3 separate regions of the Homo sapiens genome follow, and all the other regions are linked to region 3. The links are contacts of gene promoters, found by promoter capture Hi-C in human tissues and cell types (Jung and others, 2019). All regions are on one chromosome and are shown on one strand. The core of a region is centred on a gene start or on the middle of the fragment in contact, and the rest is flanking DNA. Distances in the headings are between cores, read along the strand shown. Region 1 holds the start of THG1L (tRNA-histidine guanylyltransferase 1 like). Region 2 has its middle 200 kb from the start of CLINT1. Region 3 holds the start of EBF1 (EBF transcription factor 1).

Region 1 (3,006 bases), core at 149-2,648, 1.4 Mb after region 3:
AACACGCTCTGTTGCTAGATAACAGAGGCTGTTTGGAGGAAGATAATGTAATAGCACTGTGAACTCAAATGCTCAACTAGCCACAACCTGATCCATTTTCTTAAGAACTTAGTTTTTTTCCTGCCCTGAAATTGAGAAAGCCAGACAGAAATGCTAAGCCTCAACTCTCCTTTCTGTGAAATGGGAATAAAAGAATATTTACCTCATTGGGTTGTCCTGAAGATTAGGGAGAAGATAAAAGTAATCATACCTAGCTCCTAGTAAGTGCTCAATAAATGTTAGTTATAATAATCATTAACAATGCAGCCCTCTTCAAAGATTAAATTCCCATCTTTCTGTTATATTTCTTTCTCCCCCTCCCTCTTTTTCTGAGACAGGGTCTTGCTCTGTCACCCAAGCTGGAGTGCAGTGTCCAATCACCGCTCACTGCAGCCTTGACCTCCCAGGCTCAAGCGATCCTTCCACCTCAGCCTTCCCAGTAGCTGGAACTACATGTGTGCACCACTGCGCCGGGCAAATTAAATTTTTTCTTTTTCTTTCTTTCTCTCTTCCTTCTTTCTCTCTCTCTCTCTCTTTTTTTTTTTTTTTTTTTTTTTTTTTTTGTAGTGGCGGAGTTTCACAAACAACAACCACAGAAAAAACAAAACAAAAACAAAAACTTGGTCTCCAACTCCTGGCCTTAAGTGATCCTCCTGCCTCCCGCGCCCAGCCTTCTCTTTTTTTCTGACTCTCTGTTGAATCTAGTCCATGTGGCCTGTTACTGATAATGAAGCACAGACGTTAAGTATTGCCCACAAGCAAGGCTTACACAGACTTCTGAACAGTCAGCATTCAAAGATATCTAACAGAATAGCTAGGCAATTGGCTTAAGAGCTTAAATATTGTGCATGAGAGTGACTTTTAACAACAGGTCCTTGCTAACAAGTCTCTGTTCACTTAACACGGGCACTCCAAGCCAGATCCTCATCACGGGAGCACATCGCCCATTCAATTACGCTAACAGCCAGCGTTCAGGCACTGTCCTAGCCAACACGCAGGGCGGGGCAATGCTCCATGCTGCGCACTCATTGGCTACCGCGTTACCCTGGTAACCGTGACTGGAGCGGGCGGGAGGACTTGCAAGGGAAGAAGCTGGATTCCCCGGAAGCGCTGGCGCATCGCGACGCCCCGAGTCGAGCTCGCTCACCGATGGAAATTCCGGCCGTCCAGCCGCACTACCACCCAGCAGTGTGCCAGGCAGGTGTCGTCAGCCTCGAAGTCCCTCACGTACTCGAACTTGCTTTTTGCCATGGTCGCCCCCAATCTCAGGTACCGTCTCAGAGTGATGGAAATGGTGGCCAAGGAATCGTGAACCTTAACTTTACAGGCGCCCCACATTCTACACGCGGAAAGGAAAGGGCCAGATAGCCCCGCCCCGGAAGTGTTCTCTTCGCGGCTACTCTAGCCGTAGGGCAGTCATAGTCTCTCTCGCCTCTCCCTGTAGTTCTTAACCTCCCAGGCAAAGAGGATGGAGGTTTAGGTTCCTCCGTTAGCACCTTCCACGCTTGCTTCTTCCTCCTCCCGTCCTGCGGCAAATCAGTCTCACGAGGTTTTTAAAAATTATTTTTTATCTGCTGGTCTTGACTTACTGGCAAAAGCAATCAGTGTCCCCGTTAGTGCCCAGATCAAAATCATACCCCAACCTAAAAAAAAAAAAAAAAAAAAAAATTCTTTTTCTGGTGTTTGAAGGTGTAGCTGTGATGTTTCCCCTTTTCTTAGTGGCATTTATTAACTTGTAGAAAATCTGGAATACACCAAAACTATAGTTAAGAAAATTAACACTTTGTTTCTCCGTCTTTCCCATCAAAGCATTGTGGATGGTTCCTTTCAGTCTTTTTTCTTTTTGTGTATGTAGGTTTACACAGGGAATGCACAAGATTGGAATTATTCGCCTATACAATGTTTATATATTTTTCCACTCAGCTTGAGCATTTGCCAGTATCATCAATTATTCCAAAGTGTGATTTTTAAAAGAAAAATGGACTCAATATTCCAACATATGGGTATACTAAATTGATTTATTCAACTTTTTCACCATTAAATAATCACAGAACCAGTGTTTGATATCTTGTTGCTGGTGGATAATAGTAAAAATAAAATCCTAATATTTGTGTCATACTTTGTGATTTACAAAGCTCTTTCAAATTCATTACCTACTTACTTACTTTTTTTTTTTTTCCATCCTCAAGAAAGATATTCAGGCCAGGCACGGTGGCTGACGCCTGTAATCCCAGCACTTTGGGAGGCAGAGGCAGGAGGATTGCTTGAGTTCAGGAGATTCATACCAGCCTTGGCAACGTAGCAAGACCCCTGTTCCTACAAAAAAGAAAAAAAATTATCCAGGCTTAGTAGCCCATGCCCGTAGTCCTAGCTATGGGAGGATGAGGTGGGAAGATACTTGAGGCCAGGAGTTCGAGACTGCAGTGACCCATCATTAGCCACTGCACTCCAGCCTTGGTGACAGAGCAAGAATCTGTCTCTAAAGAAAAAGAAAAATATTCAAACAATATAAATCCTTTTATATGTAGCAAAAAGTCTCTCACTGACTCCTAACAACATACTTTAGGCAGTTACTGTTACCAGTTTTTTGTGTATCCATACAGGGATCTATATCAGTATGTGTGTATATCCTCATAATAGTACCACAAATGGTAGTCATCACTCCTTTGATGCTCAGAGTAACATCAGAGGGATGCAAAAGAGGAACTGGGATTTCACCTTTACAAAGGGGAAATCTGAGACTCAAAGAGAAAAAAATAATTTACATAAGGTCACATATGTGGCAGGACCAAGACATAAATTATGACATCCTGCATCTTTTCTTTGTTTCTGTTGCTGTGAAGTCAGTTTTCTGTAGGTTATCATTCCTCACCTTTTACTTCCACAAACTCCTCTCTCCAAGCTGACCAGGAGACAACCAAATCTTGCCTCCTCTAGGAGCCCTACTTTCATTAGGTGAATTTTTCA
Region 2 (3,136 bases), core at 205-2,704, 1.0 Mb after region 3:
TTTTATTTTCTTTTTAACGTTTATTGCTCAAATAAGGGCATTCCTAGCTTCCTCTTTTTATGCGATTCCTTTACTAAGAACAAGCCTAACATATTATCAAAATAGTACATCACCAACATGATTCAATTTTCATGGCCCTTCAAAGTCCTCCTGTCTTAGGCCTCATGCCTTCCACCCACCAACCAAAAAATATATTAAACCCTGGTCTGCCACAGTGGCTGATATTCCCATTATGTACTTTCTTTAGATTCAATGTGTATGTGCCTCTCTATGATGCAAAAGCAGAGTGTGTTACCTGAGATTTCTCAGAAGCTGACTCAGAGAGGAAGGCATGTGGGCAAGAGATTTGTTAAGGAAATGCTCCCGGGAGAAATTGGTAAGGGAGAAGAAGGAAGGGGGGAGAAGCTGAGCAAAGGCTTGATTTCTGGCCTTTTCCCATGGAGAGCAGCTTCAACCCAACTCCACAGAGAACCCAGGAGTGAAAGTTGGGTACCTCAGAGTTTGTCTACATTTGAGGTAAGGAAGCTGGGATTTTATGCCTCTGCACAAGTCAGCTGTTCACCAAGAACAGCCCCTGGTGGATAAACCCATAGGCATTTCCACCTATCTGAGATTTGGGGGTAAGCCACTTCAGTTGCCCAAAAGTGTCCTTTGAAGAGAGTGACTGGAGCAGGTCACAGAAGCAAAAGCAATCAGGGGAAGGAGAGTGAAATGGATCCAAAGGGATCTAAAAGGAGCCTGACAGTGTCTGCCACACACAGGAAGCTTTTCTCAACCTTCTGTGGGTTCATGGAAAATAACCAGGTTAGCCTTAAAAGACAACAGGATCCAGGAGGAAGGGTGCAGATGGCAGGAAAGTGAAATGCCAAGAAGTGTTTAATGTCTGTGTCTCCTACTAGTCACAGGTCTCCTTGAGAGCAAGGATATAGAAATTTTAAAAGCTAACACACCGCTGGAGAAGCAGACAGGCAGAAGGTGATGCCAACACTGCATGGCCTATGCCAGGAGGATTGATCCATTTATTTACTCACTTAACAACCTTTTCTTGAGAACTCGTGAGATGTTGGAAATGCTCTAATGAATAAGATGGTCGAGGTACCTACTCTTATGGAGCTTCCATTCTGGCAGGGGAAACCAAATGTAACCCAATGAACCAACTCAGATAATATAAGATGATAACAAATGCTGGAACAGCAATAAAAAGGAGTAACAAGGTCGGGTGTGGTGACTTATGCCTGCAATCCCTGCATTTTGGGAGGCCGAGGCAGGAGGATCATTTGAAGCCAGAAGTTCAAGACCAGCCTGGGCAACAAAGTGAAAGCCTATGTCTACAAAAAAATTTTTTAATTAGCCAAGCATGGTGGCATGTGCCAGCAGTCCCAGATACTCAGGAGGCTGAGGCAGGAGAATCACTTGAGCCTAGGCTGCAGTGAGCTATGCACACAGTTTAAAAGAAAAAAAAAGTAACAACATAAACAGTGATGGAGTGAGGTGGGGGCTGTTCTAGAAAGAGTGGGCAAGGAAAGGCTTCCCTGGGGGTGTCATTTGAGCAGAATCTTGACTAAAGTAGGGAGCACATCCATCTGAGGGAAGTTATATGGTCTGTTTTTGTTTCTTAAAACATTGCTGCAACTATTATGTGGAGAAGCAACTGCTTATTGAAATGGAATAGAAATAGACCAGTTTGCAGACTTTTGCCCAAAAACAGGGGAGATGGTCATGCCTTAACCGTGGGTAACAGTCATGGAGATGATGAGGCGGAAAAGATATAAAGAAACACACTGCAGAGAGAGGGAAAGGACGTCACCCAGTATACAATCCCAGGAGCTGCATTTGAAGGGGAGGGTTATGGGATCCAAAAACTACTTTAGGGCATGCCTGTCCTCTTCCCTTAACCGGCCTATGTGTCCATTTCAAAAAACAATCAGGTTCATCAAATCAAAGTCAACATCCAAATGCATCAACAGCATAAAGGATCTTGAACTCGGCTAGCCCCCATGCTATCCTTTCCAGAGCCCAAGTCCAAATTCCTCTAGAACAGGGTTCAGCAAGCTGTTCCTGTAAAGGGCCAGACAGTAAATATTTCTGGCTTTGCAGCCCTACGTTCTCTGTGGCAACCACTCAACTTGAAGGAATGTAAATGCAACCATAGGCAATATGTAAATGATGGGTGTGGCTGTGTTCCAGTCAAACTTTTTTATGCACAATTAAATTTTAATTTCATTTTGTTTTCTCATGCCACAAAATATTATTCCTCTGTTACTTTTTTTCAACCATTTAAATTGTCAAAACCATACTCAGCTTATAGGATGTACAAAAACAGGCAATGGGCAGATTTGGCCCACAAGCCATAGTTGGCAGACCCCTGCTCTAGGAGATTGCTGGCCAGGAGAGAAGGATCTCTAGCAGTCCCCTCCCTATTTGTTTTTTCATGTAGCATCACTCCTGTGGGCCCAATATGTCATACTGCATATCTTACATATAAATATAAGCCAGATTTTTTTTACTCCCCTCCATGGAGTTCCGCTGGGGACTGAAGGGTCTAATAGCGAGAGTGAGTATATTTTGCCAACAATTCCCGCTCTCCATAATGGAATTTAATTATTTGGCCTGAAAAGCATTTAAGCCTCACTATACAAAAAGAGTCAAATAAATAAATAATAAAGGGGCACATTTTGATAGCACCTGCCTCAAAGATCTTAAAGGCACTGTCATGCCTGCTTTAATATTTTATGGTGTAGAAATGTGACTGTTACCAGGTCATAAAAATATACTGCTTTTTATACCAGGTCAAAATCGAGGGCCAATAGCCCTGTTTTGTGGCAGGATGCAGAGAGCCAGCCAGGAAGGAGGATAGAGTTACCTTTTTTGCAATCTGAAGGGAGCTATTTAAAGATGATGTACCAGATAAATGCATATTGGATATTTTTATTGTGTTTCTTTTTCCTTCTGCATTTTAAAACAGAAGATTTCAGAGTCTGCCAGCAGCTGGTGCAACATTCATTATTTACCACTGAAAAACCAAGAATCTCAGCCTCTGACCCTCTATTATTGCTTAGGCATATTCTGGGAAGAGCTGAGAGGCAGGCAGGTGTTTCCTGGAGCCAGTAACACATGGTTTCTCCTGCAAACACTC
Region 3 (3,225 bases), core at 614-3,113:
GCCAGCAGAAAGGGGACCTGGATTTCTGGCAGATAATTTCCCCGAAGGAGTCCTTAGCAGATTTGGCTGCAGTCAGGGAGTTCCTTTGAGGGCAATGAAACAGAAGTTCACCATGTGCTTATTAGAGGTTACAACCTGCTAAAAAATGATGGGGTACATTACCCAGAAACTTCTAGCTATTTCCTTTGCCAGCCACAAAGATACATGCTGAAAAGCCTGAGGAGGGAGACAATTTCGTCCTTTTTTCTTTCCCTTTTTCCTTCCATCTCTCCCATTTCCATTCGTTCCTTCTCCTTCTCTCCTTTCTCTCTCCCTCCTTCCTTCCCATTTTCTCTTCCCCTTCTTCCTTTTTTGTCCTTTCTCCCCACCTTCCTTCTCTTCTCCCCCCACCCTTTTCATATGGCAGAGACAGAGTTAGGAAGGATTTGTTCAAGCCCTCCTTTTTAACAGGAAGAATAAAGGAGGATGAGAAAAACCCTACACCAAATAACCAGCTAATCAAGGACGGTTAACATTGCTGTTGCTTTGGTAGTTACTCTAAAAACAAACGAACCAACTACTTGGGGTGGGGAATGAGGGGTTGGCATTTAATTTGAGAAAATTTAAAAACGCATCCTGACACAGCCCCAGTGAGAGCATTCATTCCACCATTCACATATCTCGAGGACTGCCCGAGAGAGGTGAGCGTGTGAGTGAGAACAGTGCCCAACCCTGGCAGCCTCTAGGCTAGCGGCCGAGAGAGAAGCGTTTCAGAGGCCGGGGTGGGAGTAGAGCCTGGTACCCCACTTCCTGGGGACCCACAGCGCCTCATTTGCCGGGGCCCAGCGTCCATTCATCCCTCCCAGCGTGGAGGCCGTGCCCCTCCGAGAGTTACCAGCCCCGACCTCGCGCACCCATATTCCATCCCACCGCCCCCGCCTCAAAGCGAAGAGGTGGGCACCTGGGACGCGCGTCCTGCTTTTTCTGCCCGGGCTCTCCCGTCTCCTCCACTTTTGTCCCCGACGTCCCAGAACGGCGGAGCAGGACGCGGCATCAGCCCTGGGAGGGCGCAGCCTGCGAGCCTCCAGCGCGCTCAGGGCGCGGCGAGGATGCTAAAGGACTGCAATGGCCAGGATGCAGATCCCCAGCTCAAATTCCTGAGGAAGACACCCGCCTCCCTTTCCCTCTGTCCCCTCTCCGTCCTCGCTCGGACCCGCTCCTCCCCAGCCCAGACGTCAGTGCTCAGCGCTCCTTCGCTCGCCACTTTGCGAGGAACTTTGGCCGGCTCCCCTGCGCCACCGGGAGCGGGATGTTAATGAGAGAGCGTGGCCTGGCGCCGCCAGCGAGCCGGCTCCCGGGCCGCGATTGGCTGCGGTGGGCGGAAAGATGACGTTATGCAAATGAAGGGGCGGGGCCTCGATGCGCGGGCCCCGCCTCCTCCCTTTGGGGTTAGTGTGCCTGTGTTTAGCTCTGGGGAAAGTCAAACTGGATTCCATAGGGAAAGCCTGCAAATCACTTCTATTTTAGCAAGGAGAAAACAGAATCTCCATCCAGCAGGGTCCACCCCTCTCTCTTTCTCCCTCTCCTCTCTATCTCTCTTTCCCTCCCCCCCTTTCCTCTCTCCCTCTCTCCCCTTCCCCCCACCCTCTCTGGTGTATCTGTCTACGGCAACCAGCGTCCTCCTCATCTACACGCAAAGGAAAGAAACATCTTTGGTTGGGAGAGAAGGAGGAAAAAAAAAGAGAGAGAGAGGAAAAAACTTGCCTGGTTGTGGAAAATGACACTTGAAGTAGCAAAGCCGGCAGCGCGAGTTGAGTCTATTGTTTCTTAAATTGCCATCAGGGTTTTTTTTTTTTTTTTTTTTTTTTTTTTTTTTTTTTCTTCCTGCTTCTTCAAGTGAAGGGTACCTCTACAAAAGGAAACTCCAGCCCCTCCTGTCCTCCACCGGCCTGTGATCATTACAAAAAAAAAAAAAAAAAAGCAAAAAAAAAAAAAAAGCACCCAAACCAAAAATCAACCAACCAAACAACCCCCAACAGCCAAGCATACATCTCTAATTTTATTATTTTGGTCTTTTCGTTGGATTTTCCCTTTCTTCTTTTTTTCGGGTTATCGCTCAGTTTTGAGCAGAGGTTTACATTTTTTAAAAATTTGCTTTCCAGCCCGCCTTGATCTTCTAAGTGCGAGTTCATCGTCTGAGAAAAAAAAAAATCTCTGGTTGGCGTTTTTGTTTCTTTTCTTTTCTTTCTTTTCTTTCCTTTTTTTTTTTTTTTAATTTTTTTCAAGGGGGAGGAGATTTTCCACAAGAAAAGGTTGTTTTCATGTTTGGGATTCAGGAAAGCATCCAACGGAGTGGAAGCAGCATGAAGGAAGAGCCGCTGGGCAGCGGCATGAACGCGGTGCGGACGTGGATGCAGGGCGCCGGGGTGCTGGACGCCAACACGGCGGCGCAGAGGTGGGTACTGCGCGGGGACCGCGGCCGAGGTGAGCCGCGAGCGGGAGAGCCGGGAGGCGGAGGCGGCAGCGGCAGCGGCAGCTGCTGCCGCGGGGCCGGGCGGCGGGGTGAGTCCGCAGCCGCTGCGCTCCGCTCTCCGCCGGGGCTCCGCGCTCTCCAGCCGCTCTGCCTTCGTCGCCTGCGGCCGGAGGACCTGGAGCTGTCTGCGAGGAGCCCACGCTTTGCCAGCACTTTCCCCTGCCTCGTCTGTGACTGTTTTCATTTTGTTTTAACCCAGAAGAGGCGTCTCAACACAGCATGTTGGAGATCTGTGTTTTATGTTTTTATGTGATTGCTCTTTCTTTTCCGGCCGGCTCTCTTTTCTTCTTTCCCTTCGCTCTTCCTTTCCCTCTTTTCTTTTTTCTTTCTTTCTTTCTCTTCCTTCCTTCCTTTTTCTTTCTTTTTTCTTTTTCTTTCTTTTTTTCTTTCCTCCTTTTCTTTTTCCTTTTTCTTTCTCTTTCCTCTTCCTGCCTTTCTTTTTTCTTTCTTCCTTCTTTCCTTTCTCCCCCCTTTATTTTCTTCTCTTCTCCTTCCTCTTCCTTTCTTCCCCTCTTCCCTCCTTCCATTTCTTTCGTTCTTCGTTCTTTCCTGTCTCTCTTCCTGCCTTCTTTTCTTTCTTCTTTCTTTCATTTCCTTCTCTCATTTCTTTCCCCCACCTTCCCTTAATTTCTCCCTCACTCTTTTCCTTCCTCCCTTCCTCTCTCCATTTTCTTTCTCTTCTTTCTTCAGCTTCCCTCCTTTCTCCTCTTTCT

Evidence for each region. Contacts are between HindIII fragments. The study calls those that stand out against the background at their distance.
Region 1: a contact is called between the fragment with the promoter of THG1L here and the fragment with the promoter of EBF1 in region 3, in 1 of the 25 tissues and cell types used here (thymus).
Region 2: a fragment that was not itself captured here is called in contact with the fragment with the promoter of EBF1 in region 3 in 1 of the 25 tissues and cell types used here (lymphoblastoid cells).

Annotation. Positions count from the first base shown.
Region 1 is chr5:157,729,812-157,732,817 of GRCh38, reverse strand. It overlaps THG1L (tRNA-histidine guanylyltransferase 1 like), which reads right to left and starts at 1,398. Exons shown (of 6, transcript NM_017872.5): 1 at 1,187-1,398. The coding sequence starts at 1,377. RefSeq lists enhancers at 1,122-1,481, 2,798-2,877, 2,908-3,006. The HindIII fragment of the contact is 18,862 bases long and covers 1-3,006 here.
Region 2 is chr5:158,055,593-158,058,728 of GRCh38, reverse strand. No RefSeq gene overlaps it. Among named protein-coding and RNA genes, the nearest start is that of CLINT1, 200 kb to the right of the region's middle. The HindIII fragment of the contact is 5,538 bases long and covers 1-3,136 here.
Region 3 is chr5:159,098,554-159,101,778 of GRCh38, reverse strand. EBF1 (EBF transcription factor 1) reads left to right here and starts at 1,863. Exons shown (of 16, transcript NM_024007.5): 1 at 1,863-2,434. The coding sequence starts at 2,301. It overlaps LINC02202 (long intergenic non-protein coding RNA 2202), which reads right to left and starts at 1,296. Exons shown (of 3, transcript NR_109890.1): 1 at 941-1,296. RefSeq lists enhancers at 328-954, 955-1,583 and a silencer at 2,401-2,690. The HindIII fragment of the contact is 15,907 bases long and covers 1-3,225 here.